Regions from separate parts of the Homo sapiens genome. Here regions 1 and 2 are each linked to region 3. The links are contacts of gene promoters, found by promoter capture Hi-C in human tissues and cell types (Jung and others, 2019). All regions are on one chromosome and are shown on one strand. The core of a region is centred on a gene start or on the middle of the fragment in contact, and the rest is flanking DNA. Distances in the headings are between cores, read along the strand shown. Region 1 overlaps TAF4B (TATA-box binding protein associated factor 4b). Region 2 overlaps SS18 (SS18 subunit of BAF chromatin remodeling complex). Region 3 holds the start of PSMA8 (proteasome 20S subunit alpha 8).

What was found. Contacts are between HindIII fragments. The study calls those that stand out against the background at their distance.
Region 1: a fragment that was not itself captured here is called in contact with the fragment with the promoter of PSMA8 in region 3 in 3 of the 25 tissues and cell types used here (heart left ventricle, lymphoblastoid cells and small bowel).
Region 2: a fragment that was not itself captured here is called in contact with the fragment with the promoter of PSMA8 in region 3 in 5 of the 25 tissues and cell types used here (aorta, liver, lymphoblastoid cells and 2 more).

The regions. Positions count from the first base shown.
Region 1 is chr18:26,243,994-26,246,945 of GRCh38, forward strand. All of the region lies in intron 1 of TAF4B (TATA-box binding protein associated factor 4b), which reads left to right. Among named protein-coding and RNA genes, the nearest start is that of TAF4B, 19 kb to the left of the region's middle. RefSeq lists a silencer at 842-1,200. The HindIII fragment of the contact is 3,830 bases long and covers 1-2,952 here.
Region 2 is chr18:26,048,775-26,051,950 of GRCh38, forward strand. All of the region lies in intron 5 of SS18 (SS18 subunit of BAF chromatin remodeling complex), which reads right to left. Among named protein-coding and RNA genes, the nearest start is that of SS18, 40 kb to the right of the region's middle. The HindIII fragment of the contact is 4,682 bases long and covers 1-3,176 here.
Region 3 is chr18:26,132,520-26,135,320 of GRCh38, forward strand. It overlaps PSMA8 (proteasome 20S subunit alpha 8), which reads left to right and starts at 1,350. Exons shown (of 7, transcript NM_001025096.2): 1 at 1,350-1,548. The coding sequence starts at 1,447. The HindIII fragment of the contact is 10,391 bases long and covers 1-2,801 here.

The DNA.
Region 1 (2,952 bases), core at 339-2,838, 110 kb after region 3:
ACTGGGAGATGCCTCCCAGTTAGGCTACTCTGGCATCAGGGACCCACTTGAGGAGGCAGTCTATCCAATCTCAAACTCCGTGCTGGGAGAATCACTACCCTCTTCAAAGCTGTCCGACAGGGATGTTTATGTCTGCAGAAGTTTCTGCTGCCTTTTGTTCAGTTATGCCCTGCCCCCAGAGGTGGAGTCTACAGAGACAGGAAGGCCTCCTTGAGCTGCAGTGGGCTCCACCCAGTTCAAGCTCCCCGCCACTTTGTTTACCTATTCAAGCCTCCGCAATGGCGGACCCCTCTCCCCCAGCCTCACTGCCGCCTTGCAGTTTGATCTCAGACTGCTGTGCTAGCAGTGAGCGAGGTTCTGTGGGCGTGGGACCCTCTGAGCCAGGCGCGTGATATAATCTCCTTGTGTGCTATTTGCTAAGACCATTGGAAAAGTGCAGTATTAGGATGGGAGTGTCCTGATTTTCCAGGTACTGTCTGTCACGGCTTCCCTTGGCTAGTAAAGGCAATTCCCTGACCCCCTTGTGCTTCCTGGGTGAGGCGATGCCCCCGCAGCTTTGGCTCACACTCCGTGGGCTGCACCCACTGTCCAACAAGTCCCAGTTAGATGAACCCAGTACCTCAGTTGGGGATGCAGCAATCACCGGTCTTCTGTGTCACTTATGCTGGGAGCTGTAGACTGGAGCTGTTCCTATTCGGCCATCTTGGAACCTCCCCCCGAAATTTATACTAGAAATTATCCTTATAAGAGAAACTAGAAGAGCAACAGGGACAGGGAGTGGTTTTTAGGAGTGGGAGTAGCCTTGGAGAAGAGAGGTGGGAGGAAGTTTGTCTGACAGGCATTAGGACGCAGGAGGCAAGTTTCAGGATAGATAGGATAGATGGGTGAGTCTCGCTTGGGCGACATAACTTTGAGAGTTCCGCTCACTGCTGCAGGGTCAACCAACTTTTTGTCGGGACCCCAGAGCTGAATGTCTTTCCTCTCTGTCGACCCTTGGCTCAGCCCAGAAGTATAGGAAAAGTGGAAGCTGGTTCCAGGCAAACCAACGCTCCGAACTCCAAAGAGTCTGGGGTTGTTAGAGAGCCCTTTCCCAGAAAGCCTGACACCCGTGTCTTTAGTCTGGCGGCCATGCTAGTCATTTTTAACAGGCCAACAGGTGCCCAGTATTTAGCCCCCAAATTCTAAGGAAAAATAGGACAGAATAGCAAGCAAAAGGGGTCCGATGGTCCTTATCACGTGGCGATATCCTGAACAAGCCCCCAAGATGTGTCCAGAGTTGGTTCCTTCCAGCAGGTTTGTGGTCTCGCTGACTTCAAGAATGAAGCTGCAGACCTTCGTGGTGAGTGTTAGAGCTCTTACAGATGGCACGGACCCAAAGAGTGAGTGGTAGCAAGGTTTACTGTGAAGAGCGATAGAACAAAGCTTCCACAGTGTGGAAGGGGACCCAAGTGGGTTGCTGCTGCTGGCTGGGGTGGCCAGCTTTTGTTCCCTTATTGGCCCCTCCCATGTTCCATTTCTGTCCTATCAGAGTGCCCTTTTTTCAATCTTCCCTGTGATTGGCCACTTTTAGGATCCTGCTGATTGGTGCATTTTACAGAGCACTGATTGGTGCATTTTACAAAACGCTGATTGGTGCATTTTACAGAGCGCTGATTGGTGATTTTTAGAATGCTCTTGCTGTCTGCAGAGTGCTGATTGATGCGTTTTTACAGAGCACTGATGGTTGCATTTTACAATCCTCTTGTAAGACAGAAAAGTTCTCCAAGTCCGCACTCGACCCAGGAAGTCCAGCTGGCTTCACCTCTCATTAGTACCTATAAATGCTTCATTTTTTCAACTGCATTGTAGTCCACTGTATTGACATAACATTGTTTTTTGACCACTTGCCTATTCGCAGGCGTTGATACTGTTTGCACTACTTTCTGCTGTTAAAAATGATGCTGTGATAAACATCTTTGCATGTGTATTTTTGTGCAGTTTGGAAACGTGGATTTTTATAGGATAAATTGCTAGAAGTGGAATTGTTGGTTCAAATGGTAATATTTCAATCGGCATTGCTAAATTTTACTCCCCAAAAATTGTTTAAATATGTAATCAACAGTATTAATACTTAATTTTAGAAAACTACCCATGGAATCTAAGAAGTCATTTTTCAGACATTAATTAATGGTAAGAATATATGAGCATTGAAATTGAGGGGGAAGGTAGGATTTCAATATAGAGAAATGTAGGCTGGATGATAATACCAGTGTATGGGTTTGTTACTTACTGAATGACTATGTCTAAGAAGGCTCTTGTTACCTTGTAGTAAACTAGGTATATGATACATAGTTGTCTAGAAAGTTCAGTCCGAGACCACAGAATAAGGCCTAGATGGTATGCCAATCAAGTTTGTAGATAATAATGGGCTTGTAGGGTTGGCTTTTTGTGGAATGTAATAGAGTGTAGCAACATAGGAGAGAACATTGGTCCTGGAGTTTGAATCCCAGCTCTACCACTTGATAGCTTTGTAATCTAGGCAAGTTATTAATCTCATTGTTTTTGTGGTTTTTTTTTTCTGGATGGAGTCTCACTCTGTCGCCCACGCTGGAGTGCAGTGGCGCGATCTCAGCTCACTGCAACCTCCACCTCCCAGGTTCAAGCCATTCTCCTGCCTCAGCCTCCCAAGTAGCTGGGACAACAGGTGTGTGCCACCACACCTGGCTAATTTTTTATTTTTAGTAGAGATGGGGCTTCACAATATTGGCCAGGCTGGTCTCAAACTCCTGACCTCAGGTGATCTGCTGGCCTTGGCCTCCCAAAGTGTTGGCATTACAGGCGTGAGCCACCGCACCTGGCCTAATCTCATTCTTTTTTTTTTCTTTTTTGTTTTCTGAGATATAGTTTCACTCTTGTTGCCCAGGTTGGAGTGCAGTGGCATGATTTCGCCTCACTGCAACCCTCTCCCCCGCC
Region 2 (3,176 bases), core at 160-2,659, 84 kb before region 3:
CAACACTTTCTTAATACTATTAAAACACCCAGAAATAAATTAGATGCTGTGGCTAAAATAAGACAGTAGCTGATAAACCAATCTCAAATGTTTTTGTGTTCACCTTTTTAAAAAAGCTTGATGATTAGCCAACTGATTTTATAAAAATTATGCAAATGATTACCAAGTCAGGATTTTTACATGCATCATTTCACTTAATCTTACTTAGAGAAATTAAGTAATTTAGTCAAAGGTCCCACATACAGTAAGCTACAGGGGGCCAAGACATATCCAAATCTGAAGAATTACACACATGGAACTTACAAAACATATTCTTTAACACAAGCACTGCAATTTGTAAAATTCTTTATATTTGAATATATAATTAGTAAAATTCTGTTAAATGTGGAAAGCTATAATTACTAATGCCTGATAATGAAAAATACACAGGTATCTGTCCAATATAACATCTTCAGAAATCCCTTCTACACAATTTGCCTTTTCATACACTGAATGTACTTGTTGATTAAATAAACATTTTTCAGACAGGTGATCATATAACACTTGCTTTTTACTGAAGAAATGAAAGAAATAAATAAGATTTTGTGTGTCCATCCTCAGGCATTTTTCTAGGCACCTGGGATACAGCAGAGAACACACTTCCTGCTTTTATAGAGCTTGTTGAATTCTAGTGAAGTTTATGCTCTATATGCAAATAAGTTTATGTAGGAAGATGGTGGTTTACTCTGAAAACTGGAGTTACTCTTTTTGTTTTTTTAGAGACGGTCTTGCTCTGTCACCCAAGCTGGAGTGCAGTGACACCAGCAAACTCACTACAGCCTCGAAGTCCTGTGCTCAAGTGAACCTCCTGCCTCCACCTCCAAGTAGCTGGGACTGCAGGCACAAGCTACCACGCCCAGCTAATTTTCACATTTCTTTTTGTAAAAAATGCAAGTCTTGCCATCTTGCCCAGGCTGGTCTTCAACTCCTGGGGTCAAGTGATCCTCCCATTTCAGCCTCCCAAAGTGTTGAGGTTACAAGCAAGGGCACCAACGCCCAGCCAGATCTTTCTCTTAAGGTTCAAAATGACAAAAAAATAAACTTTATCTGGGTAACAGTGACAATAACATGGGAAAATATATGTTGGATTGACTATTATACTTAAGCAACATTTTGCCAGCAGTTTAAGAAACAAATTAACATAAAAATTGGGCCCAGCGCAGTGGCTTGCGCCTGTAATCCCAACACTTCGGGAGGCTGAGGTGGATGGATGGCTTGAGGTCAGGAGTTCAAGACCAACCTGGCCAACATGTCTCTACTAAAATACAAAAATTAGCTGGGCGTGATGGCAGGCACCTGTCATCCCAGCCCCTAGGAAGGCTGAGGCAGAAGAATTGCTTGAACCCAGGAGGCGGAAGCAGCAGTGAGCCGAGACTGCACTTCTGCACTCCAGCCTGGGCGACAAAAAGTGAGACTCCACCTCAAAAAAAAAAAAAAATTTGTGCTAAAGTGCTCACCTGGAAGCAATAGACCCTCTAAGAGAACACAGAGAAAAACATTTTGCAATACTAGCTTAGTTGCTGAATTAAAACAAATAAAAATAAATAATAATAAACAGAAAAACTTTCAATGTAAAATATGCAGCTTATTTTTATAAAAACTAAGAAAATGTTTTATAATGAAATGAATATTAAAACTTCATTAATAAAACTCTTCAATCATCCTCTAGCATCTAGTAAAAAAATTCATTAATAAAACTCACCATGAACTTCTTTATTAAAAGGTAACATATAATTAAAATGCTTTTATAAGAAACTCATATGATTAAAAAACTAGGTGCTGCCAGAACACTGTATAACTTTCTTTTTTGGTAACTGTAATTTTGTGTTCTTTTGATTCTGAAATATCAAAATTTAAATGAAGTTTTTTATTTGTCCTAAAGAGATTTTTAAAACAATAAAGATTTCCGGTGAAACCCTGTCTCTACTAAAAATACAAAAAAAAAATTAGCCGGGCGTAGTGGTGGGTGCCTGTACTCCCAGCTACTTGGGAGGCTGAGGCAGGAGAATGGTGTGAACCCGGGAGGCGGAGCTTGCAGAGAGCAGAGATTGTGCCACTGCACTCCAGCCTGGGCAACAGAGCCAGACGCCGTCTCAAAATAAATAAATAAATAAATAAACAAATAAAAATTTCCTCAATGATTTTAACCATATTTTCTTTTTGAAAATTGTCTTTAATCTCTTCAGATCTCTACCTGGTCATTTCTGTACAGCCTATTTTCTATTAAGAAGTTCATAAACTGACCAGGTGCAGTGGCTCATGCCTGTAATCCCAGGACTTTGGGAGGCCAAGGCAGGTGATCACTTAAGCCCAGGTGTTCAAGACCAGCCTGGGCAACATACCAAGACATTGTTTCTATTCTTTTAACAAAATACAAAAAATAAAAATAAAAAAGAAGAAATTTATAACTATGAGAACAAGGCAAAAAGTGATATAACTACTGTACTATAGTAAAAGGAAGACCTACACATACTTACAAAATACGACATTTTTAAAAATAAAAGTTGGTCCCTAAGAACAAAAAATTTCTAAAAACACCTCAATACTTTTCTCCAAAAAGTCAATATGCACATTGCTATATGCATTATTTTTTTCTTCGAATCTTATTATGTCATATCAAACCATGCTGCAGCAACATCCATTTTTTGTGCACACCATACCTTTTCTTAACTATAGGTTTCTAAGAAGTTAAGAAGTGTGCCATCATTAATGGAGTTGCTGTCAGAATCATCAATTTTCCTGTTCTCTCTCCTGGTAACCAAACTGTATAGAGAAACACATGAACTCCCTTCTGATCTAGCACTGACTGGATCTTGCTGTTGTTTGGACTTTTAATTGACCTAATAAAAACAAAAAAATAATTCTACCATAAGCATTAAGTAACTTTGGGGGAAAAAAATGTAGCAAGTGCCAGTTTTGTGAAGCTACAATGATTGGCAATTTTTTCTATTATCTCCTTTTGCTTTCAGTATATCTCATGAAAATTATTAAAAATCTGTATTATTTTAAAATTATATTATTTCATCATAAGGAATTATCAACAGATTAACACTAACTTCTTTTATCTGGGTACATTTTAGTGCTCTGTTTATTTTATAAATCAAAATCTAGAAAATTTTATTCCAAATACATTTAAT
Region 3 (2,801 bases), core at 100-2,599:
AAAAAAAGTATTAATAATTAAATAAATTGTTTAAGTCAATTAAAATTCTGATTTAAGTATTTGGAATTCAGGGAATCAAATTTTTCCTCTTTTGAGGAAATTATTCTTTTTTTCTTTTTTTTGGTTAAAGTTGATTTCACCAACTTTAAGATCCTCCCCAGTGGAAAACTGCATATATTAAACAACACATGGAAAGCAATAATAGCTAAACTTACCTGGCTATTACTGCCCACCAGGCACCATTTTATGTAATTATGCCCATAAACACATATTAAGCTCAGAATACTCTGCTGCAGATTTTTTAATATTCCCATTTTATTGATAAGGAGAAAGCGACAGAGTTGTTTCATAGTTAGTAATGTAGCAAGTTGTAAAGAGTTTCTGCTATAGCTAAATTTCCAGACATCTTTTAAGTCTCATACTTTGGGCTTTTACAAAATTTCTCCAATTAAAAGAATATTATCTGGGCCGGGCGCGGTGGCTCACGCCTGTAATCCCAGCACTTTGGGAGGCCGAGGCAGGCGGATCACGAGGTCAGGAGATCAAGACCATCCTGGCTAACACGGTGAAACCCAGTCTCTACTAAAAATATAAAAAATTAGCCGGGCGTGGTGGCGGGCGCCTGTAGTCCCAGCTGCTCCGGAGGCTGAGGCAGGAGAATGGCGTGAACCCGGGAGGTGGAGCTTGCAGTGAGCCGAGATTGCACCACTGCACTCCAGCCTGGGCGACAGAGCGAGACTCCGTCTCAAAAAACAAAAAACAAAACAAAACAAAAAAAAGAACATTATCTTAATTCTCATCATTAGCTTAGTTTGATGGACTATTTGCTTTATTTAACGGACCATTTGCTCATCTGCTCTATTTTGCTCACAAGGCAGAAAATATCAGAAGCAACAATATTTTGAAGTTTGCTTTCTTTCCTTCGGTTCAAATAACAAGAGTTAACCTGAGAGAGAGAAAGAAAAAGTAGGAAATTTAGAATTTGAAACCAAAGGGAAGGGACTGATATTTAACTTACCACAGTTTCTCCAACATGTATGCGATAACAAAAATATCTGATATTTGAAGACCTCATTTTTAAGCCCTAATCTTTGATATTATTTTTATAACTCGAGTGCCGTGACACCATCCCTGGGGCAACACGGTAGTGGGGAAATGGAGATATGCGCTATGCGTCAGACATGAAGGGTAAGGGAAGAATGCCGTCAACTCACAGGCACTGCTTGGGTGACAAAGGCTGGCAAGCGCGAGGACATCCGCAGGCAGCCAAAGGAGCAAGGACTTCCGTGAAGCAGCCGAAGCGCGGGCGCGGGGACTTCCGGGAGGCAGCTTGAGGCGCGTGTGGAAGCGCTTCCGGGCGGTAGCACGCTGTGTTGGCGGCGGCTCCCCGCTTGCCTCAGCTGCAGCAGCGGGAAGCTCGGTGGCAAGCCCTTGTAGTCCTGTGCGATGGCGTCTCGATATGACAGGGCGATCACTGTCTTCTCCCCAGACGGACACCTTTTTCAAGTTGAATATGCCCAGGAAGCGGTGAAGAAAGGATCCACCGCGGTGAGGAAGCAACTATTACCGGACTATTCCCCGCTCTGACCTGTCAGGCCATCGTTACCCTGCTGCCCCAGCCCACCTTTCCATCCTAGGAGCTCAAGAGAGGAGATTCCCACACTTGTGAAAATTACTTTGTTCTTTTTATTTAGGGAGACAGACTTCTAGATTTGGGCCGGAAGTGGGCAGAGTAAAAGTTAGTAGATTTCCCCTATCTCTGCTGTTCAACTGCCTCTGTTTCATGGTAGCTACAGACGCAAAACTAGGGTGTGTGTGTGGGTGTGTGTGTGTGTGTGTGTGTGTCTCTGTGTGTGTGTGTGTGTGTGTAGGGACGTTAATGATGTGATTGACAATAGGGAAAGCTTCTAATCTGTAACAGCCTACCTATTGAACGCTCGTGGTCCAGTTCCTTGGTAGTTCAGAGACCCCTGGAAAAGTTAACAGTTGCTTCATGTTGGGAACTGTTTTTTAATAACAGTTACAATAAAAAATAAAAGTTGGCCACACCTGCTCCCCAAATACGGACTAAATCAATATAAAATTAAACTTTTGTTGATGAAGAAATGATTAAAAACACAGTTCAAACACACGCGTTAAAAATATCCCAAAATTGCTGGGCGCAGTGGCTCACACCTGTAATCCCAGCACTTTGGAAGGCCCAGGAGGGCGGATCACCTGAGGTCGGGAGTTTGAGACCAGCCTGACCAACATGGAGAAACTCCGTCTCTACTAAAAATACAAAATTAGCCAGGCGTGGTGGCGCATGCCTGTAATCCCAGCTACTCGGGAGGCTGAGGCGGGAGAATCGCTTGAACCTGGGAGGCAGAGGTTGCGGTGAGCCGAGATCGTGCCATTGCACTCCAGCCTGGGCAACAAAAGCGAAACTCCGTCTCGGGAAAAAAAAAAAAAATCCCAAAATTGTCCCAATATTTCCCAGCCTTGTAGAGGCTCAAAAGTCCAAGAACTTCCACTTTTTTGGCCACTTAAAAAATAATGCTGGAAGTTCCTTGAGAGATTACACCCTACCTTAGATTTATGTATCCACATTACTGAAAAACTTAAAAAATACTCAGGGTAGGAGTAATACTGCTGCCAAGTTTTAACTACGTTCAATAATTTTAGTGATTTATAAAAATTAAAGAGGACAAAAGTGCCCTAGTGACACAAGATCTATTACCCCAAATCTTCTAAGGCCTAGCCTATGAATTCAAAGGATCGGATATTTTTATTCTCTCAATTTCATGAGCATGTTTGTTGTG